3 separate regions of the Homo sapiens genome follow, and regions 1 and 2 are each linked to region 3. Evidence: promoter capture Hi-C in 16 types of primary human blood cells and fetal thymus (Javierre and others, 2016). All regions are on one chromosome and are shown on one strand. The core of a region is centred on a gene start or on the middle of the fragment in contact, and the rest is flanking DNA. Distances in the headings are between cores, read along the strand shown. Region 1 has its middle 9.7 kb from the start of LINC01038. Region 2 has its middle 150 kb from the start of LINC00377. Region 3 holds the start of SPRY2 (sprouty RTK signaling antagonist 2).

Evidence for each region. The method cuts DNA at HindIII sites, captures the fragments that hold promoters and counts their contacts. A CHiCAGO score of 5 or more calls a contact.
Region 1: a contact is called between a fragment that was not itself captured here and the fragment with the promoter of SPRY2 in region 3, in 5 of 17 cell types (monocytes, M0 macrophages, M1 macrophages and 2 more). The highest score is 8.4, in monocytes.
Region 2: a fragment that was not itself captured here is called in contact with the fragment with the promoter of SPRY2 in region 3 in 2 of 17 cell types (naive B cells and M1 macrophages); the score reaches 6.0 in naive B cells.

The regions. Positions count from the first base shown.
Region 1 is chr13:79,812,638-79,815,558 of GRCh38, forward strand. No RefSeq gene overlaps it. Among named protein-coding and RNA genes, the nearest start is that of LINC01038, 9.7 kb to the left of the region's middle. The HindIII fragment of the contact is 289 bases long and covers 1,523-1,811 here.
Region 2 is chr13:80,866,089-80,869,372 of GRCh38, forward strand. No RefSeq gene overlaps it. Among named protein-coding and RNA genes, the nearest start is that of LINC00377, 150 kb to the right of the region's middle. The HindIII fragment of the contact is 460 bases long and covers 1,698-2,157 here.
Region 3 is chr13:80,339,266-80,342,617 of GRCh38, forward strand. SPRY2 (sprouty RTK signaling antagonist 2) reads right to left here and starts at 1,861. Exons shown (of 2, transcript NM_005842.4): 1 at 1,357-1,861. RefSeq lists silencers at 1,809-1,998, 2,229-2,278. The HindIII fragment of the contact is 9,098 bases long and covers 1-3,352 here.

The DNA of each region.
Region 1 (2,921 bases), core at 417-2,916, 530 kb before region 3:
AAGGGTTCACAGGAAGGTTTCAAAAGCAGGGTATTGAACCAGAAATGTAGGTCTGGGGAAATGAAACCTAAGTGTAAGATAAATGGAAGTGAGAAGTAGAAATAGGAATTAGAAAGAAAGTAGTGTGAAAATGGAATAGCTATGGGAGAAAATTGTTTACAGTGCCATTGGGGTGCACATCCTACTTTTGTAAAGAAAAGTTTAAAATAACATCTTTATTAACATATAGTTCACATATCATATAATCACCCATTTAAAGTGCACAATTCAAAGGTTTTTAGTATATTCACAGATACATGTCACCATCACCACAGCCAAAATTAGAACATTTTTATCACCTCATAAAGAAGCCCCATATTTTTTAGCTACTACCCCCCATCCCTCCTATCTCCAGACAAACACTGAAGTGCCTTCTGTCTTTATGGATTTGCCTGTTCAGGATATTTCATGTAAATGGAATTATATAATACATAGTCTTTGTCTTATGTAATTTCCTTCTTTCCCTTAACATAATGTTTTCAAGGTTCATTCGTGTCAAAGCGTGTGGTAGTACTTCCTCTTTTTTTTTCTTTTTTTTTTTTTTTTTGAGACAGAGTCTCACTTTGTCGCCCAGGCTAGAGTGCAGTGGCATGATCTCAGCTCACTGCAACCTCCGCCTCCCGGGTTCAAGCAATTCTCCTGCCTCAGCCTCCCGAGTAGCTAGCATTACAGGCCTGCTCCACCATGCCAGGCTAATTTTTTGTATTTTTAGCAAAGACGGGGTTTCACCATGCTGGCCAGGCTGGTCTCTAACTGCTGACCTCGTGATCCACCCACCTCGGCCTCCCAAAGTGCTGGGATTACAGGCATGAGCCACTGCGCCTGGCTGCAGTACTTCCTTTTTATGGCCAAATAATGTTTCATCGTATGGATGGATGTATAATGTTTTGTTTGGTCATTGATCAGTTGATAGACATTTGGGTTGTTTCTACCTTTTGGCTATTATGAATAATGCTGGTATAAATATTCATGTATGGGTTTTTGTGTGGATGTATGTTTTCATCTTCCCTGGTAGATATCTAGGAGTAAAATTTTGAGTCACATGGTAACTCTATGCTTAACCTTCTGAGGAGCTGCCAGACTGTTTTACACAGTAGCTGCACCATTTTCCATTCTCACCAGCAGTCTGTAAGGATTCTGATTTTTCCACATCCTTGTCAACACTTGCTCTTATCTAACTTTTTGAGTATAGATATCCTGGTGGGTGTGAAATGGCATCGTGTTGTCGTTTTGGTTTTGATTTCTCTGATGACTAATGACATCAAGCATACTTTTATACATTTATGACTTCTTTGGAGAAATGTTTATTCAAATCTTTTACCCAATTTTTAAAATTAGGCTTTTATTATTTTTATTATAGAATTATATGAGTTCTTTATATATTTTAGATGTAAGTCTCCTATCAGATATATGATTTCAATTTTTTTCTCTCATTCTGTGGATTGTCTTTTTACTTTCTTGACCATATTCTTTGAAGCAGAAAAGCTTTAATTTTGATGAAGTCTATTGTTTTGGACTATTTTTTCTTTTTCTGCTCATGCTTTTGGTGTCATAACTAAGAATGTATTACCAACTGCAAGATCACAAAAATTTACCTCCATATTTTATTCTAAGAGTTGTATTGTTTTCACTCATATATTTAGGTGTTTGACTCCCATTGAGTTAATTTCTATATATAGTGTAAGTTAGAGGTTCGATTTCATTCTTTGGCATGTGGCTACCTTGTTGTTCCAGCATCCTTTGTTGAAAAGATCGTTCTTTTCTCTTTAAAAAGCTTGGAACGCTTGTCAAAAATCAGTGCACCATAGGCAGATGGATTTAATTCTAGATTCTTGATTCTATTCCATTTCTCTGTATGTTTGTCCTTATGACAGTGCCACACTGTCTTGATTACTGTTGATTTGTAGTAAGTTTTGACACTGAGAAGTTTGAGTCCTCCAACTTTATCCTTCTGTTTCAAGACTTTTTTAAATAGCTTTTTTGGGTACCTTGCAATTCCATATAATTTTAAAGTCAACTTGTCAATTTCTACAGAAAAAGCTAGCTGTGATTGTGATAGAGATTGCATTGAACCTATAGATGAACTTGAGGAACATTGCCATCTCTATAATATTAAATCTTCTGATTCATGAACATGGGTTATTTTTAATTTATTGAAATCATTTAAAATTTCTTTTAACAATATTTTGAAGTCCTCAAAATATAAATTTTGCATTTTTTGTTAAATATTTTTCTAAGTATTTTATTGTTTCTGATTTTTTAAATTTTTTAAATTTTATTTTTAGATTGTTAATTGCAATTGTATAGAAATACAATTGATTTTTGTATATTGATCTTCTAACCTGCAAATTTGCTGAACTCATTACTTCTAATTATTTTTTAAAGTAAATTTCTTGGGATTTTTAATGACAAGATCATGTCATCTGCAGATATAATTTTATTTCATTCTTTTCAATTTTGGTACCCCTTTCCTTTCCTTTCCTTTCCTTTCCTTTTTCCTTTCCTCTTTCCTTTCCTCTTTCCTTTCCCTTTCCCTTTCCCTTTCCCTTTCCCTTTTCCTTTTCCTTTTCCTTTCCTTTCCTTCCTTTCCTTTCCTTTCCTTTCCTTCTAAATTGCCTTGGCTAAAACCTCTAGAACGACATTGAATAAAATTGACAAGAGTGAACATACCTATTTGTTCCTGATCTTAGGGTAAAACATCCAGTTATTCACCATTAACTATGGTGTTAGCTCTGAGCTTTTTTCATGGATTTCCTTTATCAGATTGAGGAAGCTCCATTCCGCTCTTAGTTTGTGAAGTGCTTTCATCATGGAAAGGTGCTGGGTTTTGTCAAATGCTTTTCTGCATGTATTGAGATGCTCACATGGTTTTTGTTTTTCAT
Region 2 (3,284 bases), core at 678-3,177, 530 kb after region 3:
ACAGAAAGAAAAGAAGTTTACAACCTCTTGTGGCTCAAGGGAGAAAAAGCTCACCCACATTGCTCTCTTTAAGTGTTTTTCCATGTTTAACTAGCTTCATGGAGATTCCCATATGGCTATTAAAGAATTATATTATCAAATAGAAAAATAATAAGTATATTAAAAACAGTATATAATCATGCTATTAGAAAGGAAGGACCAAGCTGTGAGCACATTATATTTAAGAGTTCAGAAGAGTAGGTACTCAATAAACGCCATGCACAGCATAGGCTTTGAGAGCCTACTTTCTAAATCCAATATATAACTAACTAAATAATGCAGCTTTGATAACCTTCAAAATAGAAAGTATATGGTCCATTAAGAGAACACATTAAGAAATCGTATTGACTCAAGCACAGATCCTTCAAGTGCCCATTATTAGCCAAATGCCTGCATCAGTAGTTACCCACACAGAAAACAGTTTTGTTAAATACACCTCGGGCCATAAATTGCCATTCTTAGTCAGCTATTGACCAATGTCTCCAATGAGAAACTTTAAAATTCCAATTTTTGCTTTAAACTTGCCTTTTTACATGGCATAGCTCATTTTTAGAATGTAATAAAAATCAGCATTTTTAAAAAAAGCAAAAGCTAGTGTCCAGCGGAAACATTCTTGCCTGGGCCACTGCTCACATCCATGCTGCCTCATGAAAGAAACAAAGTAGGAGGCTTCTTTTTCAATTACATTGTAACTGTCAACAAAACAGCATCCTAAAAGGAATCATTCAAGTCATTTTCTATCAAATGCCAAGGATACAAAATAGATTTTCTTGTTCCCTTGATGTATGCAGTACGAAGATGTTATCTCTGCTTTCTGAATGGACTGCACTTGATACAGACCTGGAAAATACATAATTAATCCAAATGTATTGGTTTTTAACTAGATTCACACATGGGCTGCCTAAATTAAATTACATTGTTTTCAGCTTCTGATCATGTAAGTAAGCAAACTTTTTCAGTCTGGGTTTCAGGCACAGCTCCAAAATAAAAGTTAAAACTCTGCGATTGATTATTCCCCGCCTTGGAAAACAAGGCTGCTCCAACTACTCTGGCTCATAGACTCTGGCAAGAGTTTCCTCAGTTGAACCTAGATCACTATCCACAATCTGTTCTTCTTCCTTTAATTTTACTGATTAAATTTTAGCTCTACCTTTTTGATCTGTGTTTCCTTGAGTTTATTACATTCTAGACTTCCTTTTCCACCTTTCTCTTCTCATATTGTTTTTTCTCCCTACTCCCCTCAAGCCAGCCTTTTTTTCCATCTCCATTATTTCTCTTGCCATAGCTTGTCTGCATTCACACCTACCACCACTATGGGAGCCTTCTGTAGTGTGGACTAACTAGCTATTATTAATACAACTCTAAAAGACAACTTGTAGCTTCTTTCAACTTCAGCATTCCACAGCCTCATTTTGAATCAGCAAATAAAGGATGGGTTTTTGTCTGCCAAAAGAAGGTACATGTAATGCACATTTAATTTGAGAAGGATTTAGCCCTCATGTAAGTCTTTATTCAGGTGTAGTTATTCAGCCGTTTATACATCTCGGAATGAGTTCAGTATGTGTCATGTGGAACCTGTTTGAAACAAATTTTAATCTCTGAAACTTACTTTTTAAGGAGGAAGTTGAAAATTATCTTTTATTTTAGCTGAAGGGGCAAGCTTAGGTGAAGATTGTGTGAAGAGTATGAAGATAATGTATCTGAAACAATATCCAGAGAAGGAAAAGCAAAAAAGGAGAAAATAAAGGAGAATGGAGGGAAATAAAGGAGAGGAGAAGACAGGAAAAGAGAAAGGAGGAGAGGAAGGGAGAGGACAGAAGGAGAGAAGGGGAAGCTAGGAGTAACATTAGTTTTATCAGGAGCATTGTTAACCATATTTGCTGTACAGGTTATATGTCAAACTTTTTGAAATCCTTATTCTATAGCTACAGAACTAGAGAAGAGCATCTTCTCTAACCACAGAGGAAGGAATCTCTATTTTTATAAGCTAAGGGAGAAAAAAATACCTTAGCCAGTGATATATAATAAAGTGATTATAATTTGTTACGATTAAACCAAGAATCTAATTTAATTTCGCTGATTTAATTAAATTAAGAGATTAATAATATTTGTTATAAAAGCTTATTGTTTTACAAAGTCTCATTCATAGAGACAAAACAGCAAATAAATGAATGGTCATCAATAGAAAATGGCTGTGTAAAAATAGTCCTATTGTATCATGAATTATTATGCTGTCACCATATTAGGGTATTTCCATGAGTTTATAATAAGTGAGAAAATAAAATAGAGAAAAATTATATAGTAATTATTGCTTTTGTAAATCAATAAAACTTCCCCATATATGTGTATGTATATATATATGGATAAGGAGATGTGTGCATATATATATATATATATATATATATATATATACACACACAATTTTTAATATATATATATTATATATATAGTGTGTGTGTGTGTGTGTGTGTGTGTATATACATATATATGCTTATCTATTATTATATATGCCTAGAGGAAAACAGAGAATAATATCTACTAAATAGATTTTCTGGTTTGATGCTGGGTGATGGATATGAGTGGAAGAGGATGGGAGAGAGAACAAGAACCAAATAGGAAGTAAGCAGAGGAGAGTGGGGTAGAGTAGTCATCGGATAAAAACAAGTATGTAGATAGAGTGTAATTAAGCATTTGTTTCATATGTACAGTTTATTATTTTTATAAAAAGCATATTTAATTATATGTAAATGAATTCATGAGTGTCTCTGTATAGAAAATTTAGTCTTTTTAAAAAAGAAAGAAGAGAACTTTATTCACTGATTCAGTTCTCTTGTCATTCTACCCAGCAACCACTAAAATCAAAATTATGCATTTAGAGCTCTACAAACAAGACATGCACATATGTCTTCATATCATTCATCTCATCTCACTTCTTCACAACTACACCACGAGATGTAAACTTACGTTTCAGGTTGCAAATCTCCAAAGGGCACAAGTAAAGCTAGATGTCAAAACTCTACAATGGCTATTCAAACATATGGGAAATGCCATAGTAACTAGACCATGGGTTTGACGAAGAGGCAGCTCCTTGATTGCAAAAATTAGACTAGCAGCAGAAACATGAGTAAATAATTTTAAAACTTGAAGAAAGAAATTTGTATCAGGTCAACAAACACAAACTATTTTTGTTGTATTATACGCATATATTAATCATTAACAGAGTTTACAATTTTTCAGATGCTTAT
Region 3 (3,352 bases), core at 611-3,110:
CGCAGCCAGGACGCACAAGTCCAACCCACGCACACACGGCGACTCCACGCTGCACTGACCGAAGGGGGCATTGCCTGTAATCTGCACACGCCTATCTCCTTTTGGGTCGAGAGAAAAAAAAAAGATATCATATTTCTTAAAGTGAAAGAAAAATGGCTTTTTAAAAAAAGGGCATTTTCCAGGGTCCCACTGCTCACTCCGGGCGCGCAGGACCCAGCTCCCGGAGCTGTAAACTTTCGGTGCAGATTTGCTTGCAGTCAAAGTAGCATCTTTGAAATAAAAGGGGGCTTTTTTGTTTTTATTTTTTAAGTGATTTCTGCCGATCCGATCCCTGGCCTCCTTCTTCAAAGCTGGACTCCCTACCTCCGCCCCTCTTCTCTTTCCCAGTCCCCCCTCCCCTTTGAAAGTGCTTTGAAACCCCCATTAAGAACAGTGTGTGATCAGACTGAGGATTAGGGGAAAAGAACTTCAGCTCTAGGGTGGGGCAAACGGACACAGAAACTGCTTTGTAAAAAACACACAAGAATCCAAATTAAAACACAGCAACAACAACAACAAAAGGAAATAAAAAATTGCCTATTTTGCCACCTACTTTCAGGTAATGGAAAATGATCGCGACCGCTTGATGACTTTCTTCCTGCGCTGGGTCAGCCCGAGCTTCCAAAAATAAAATAAGTGTGACCCAGGCTGACCACGAAGAACGGAAGAGAGAGAGCTGCACTTCCGAACCGCAGAGACCCGGCGCCAGGCAGGGCGACGCTCCCACCCGCTCCGGGCTAGACTGTCCACACGGAGCAGAGGCGGGCACTCCCTCCACCCGGCACCCTGCCTTTTTCTCACCCTGGAAGTCTCCTGCCCCCGAGGCGGGCAACCTGTGTCCCCCAGCCCCACCAGCGCCCCGCCTAGGGACAGCCTCTCCCTGGACTTTGCCTTCCACCAAGAGGAAGAACAGGTTAGAAATGCGGGCGCCTGCAAAGGCAACCTGGAAAATACAAAGTGTTTTTCTCTCCCTCTCCCGCTCTCAGCGCCGAATTCGCGGCCAGTGCACGGCTGGGAGCAGACTTCAGGCTAGCTGTCCTCCGTCCCAACCCCCTAGAGCGCGGGCGCGCGGGGTCGCCTGTCGGGGACACTGCACGGGGTGCATACAGAAGTCCCCGCAGAGGCAGGCCGAGCCCAAGCCCCGGGCGAGGCAGGTCCGCGGGGAGCGCCCCGGATCCTCGCGAAGACCCTGCGGGATTTGAGAAAGGGAGGCTCGGGGAGAGACGGACCCAACTCCTGGTCCGGCTGCACCTACTCCATGTTGCCCACAACGCGCCGGCCGCGGCGCCAGGAGGGGAAGAGCCAAACGTGCCTCACCGTGATCGCGGCTTTGCACCAACCCCTCTCCCTTGGATTCTCTTCTTTCTGCGATGTGCAAATAAATCCAGTCTCGATGCAAACTTTTTTCCTTTCTTTCCAACCTCTGCTTTAGACCAACTTCCGAGCAATCGGCGGGAGAAAAAAAGAGAATTCGGAGCCAGATTCCCCGCTGATGAACACTCCGGGGTTCGGAGCTGGAGACGACTCCCCTTCTACAAGCGCACGCGGAGTATTTCCTCTTTTTTCTCAATGAACAAGAGGCCGAAGCGCCAACGGCAAGTCCCTTTTCCTGGCAGATGAGCGAATGGGAAAAGAAAACGGCCTTACGGAGAACCTAAAGCCAGATCGCCAAGTGGTGCGGCCGGGGCCGCGTCGTAGCGGAGGCGGCGCGGGGGCGCGGGCCGGGCCGGGCCGGGCGGGCGCGGGGGCCTGGGCGCTGCGCGCTCCGCCGGCCCCTCTCCTCCGCTAGCGCTGCGGCGCGCAGCTCTCGGCGGTGCAGACTGGGCGTTGTGGAGGCGAGGCAGCGAGGCCGAGGCGGGGGCGGTGGGTGCGGAGGAGGAGGAAGAGGAGGAGGAGGAGGAGGAGGAGGGTCTGGGGCCCGCCCGGGGGGGGCTCGCCGTTGGCCTGCGCCCTCGCCTTTCCGGAGGAGGCAGGGAGCTCTGCGGCGGCCGCGGCAGCAGTAAATGGCGTCATGTGGATCCGAGGCGGAACAGAGCAGTTGTTGTCCCAGAGGATATATCGCATCCGGTCCCAGCTCATTGGCTCCGCGGGGCTACATTCACTCACACTCCAGCGCCCGCCAGCGCTCCGAGCCGCAGGAGGCATTCAAAAGGGCAACCGCGCCGCCCCGCGCGTCCCCAGGCCGGTCCTGCCGCCCGAGCGCCGTCACGCGGGGCGCCCGCGGGGCCGGGCTGGGCACTGCAGGGTCAGTTTATCTAGTTTCAAGGAAACACTGACCTTAAGGTTTGCCCAGAGGCAATGAGGACGAGCCAGAGGCTCGAGCTGACTTAGGGAACTTTCTCCTTGCCACCAGGAAAGGGGAATGAACATTTAAGACTAATCTGGGCCACGCAGTGTTAGCATGAAAAACAAGTTGCAGGTTTTAAGACTTTATCCAGAATCCATTTCAAGTCTACCTCTCCCCTTTTCTGTTCCCCTTTGCGGAGCGGGTGACGGGGGCTGGGGCGGGGGGAGAAGAAGGGGGAGGGGAAGGGGAGCGGGAAGTGAGGTGGGAGGGCTATTGGTTTATTCTTTGTCTACTGGATTAACCCGATTATACACCAGGCACCAGCACAAACCGCCTCCCCCACCTCCGAGCCTTGTACGGGAGGAACGGAATGCAGATTCGAGTTTCAAGTACCTTCTGCTCTTGCTGGGATTTGCTTTTGATTGTGTCGACTTGTAGTTTTTCCGTTTATTAGAATTTCATTTTTAAGGGGGGTTATCTATGAATGGAGGCTTTTTGAAGAGCTTCCTTACTATTTTGCTTCATGCAGTAGCTAAAGTCTACAGTCTAAGCCTTTTAACTTAATTCATTAATAGACAGGAACAAGATTACTCAGGGCGACAGCATGGGCTTCCGAAATGGGGGGGCGGGGGGGAGGGAAGGGTTGGCTCACTGCAGATTTCCTTCTTCCCTTAACTAAAAGTCATCCTTCATTTCCCACTTTTCTTGCCACCTAGAACATTTCTCAAGATTCTGTTGTCCATGTTGAAGGTGCACTATTCTTTCCCATTTACAAAAAAAAAATAAAGATAGAAAATGCATACATATGCACTGTCCTAGCTGCCGTTCATTTACTAAGAAATGTGCCTTCACGTGGGAGCACCAGTGGAAAATTAAAACTTGCGCATACACACGCCTAATATTGCATTCTGTCGAGCGACTTACAGAATGCTTTTACTTTACAGGGAAGTACCTGCTTGTACGGTCAAAATTCCCGAATAGCACCTGCGATCTTGCCCCATGCGGGGTGTTCTTGAAAGCAGTGTT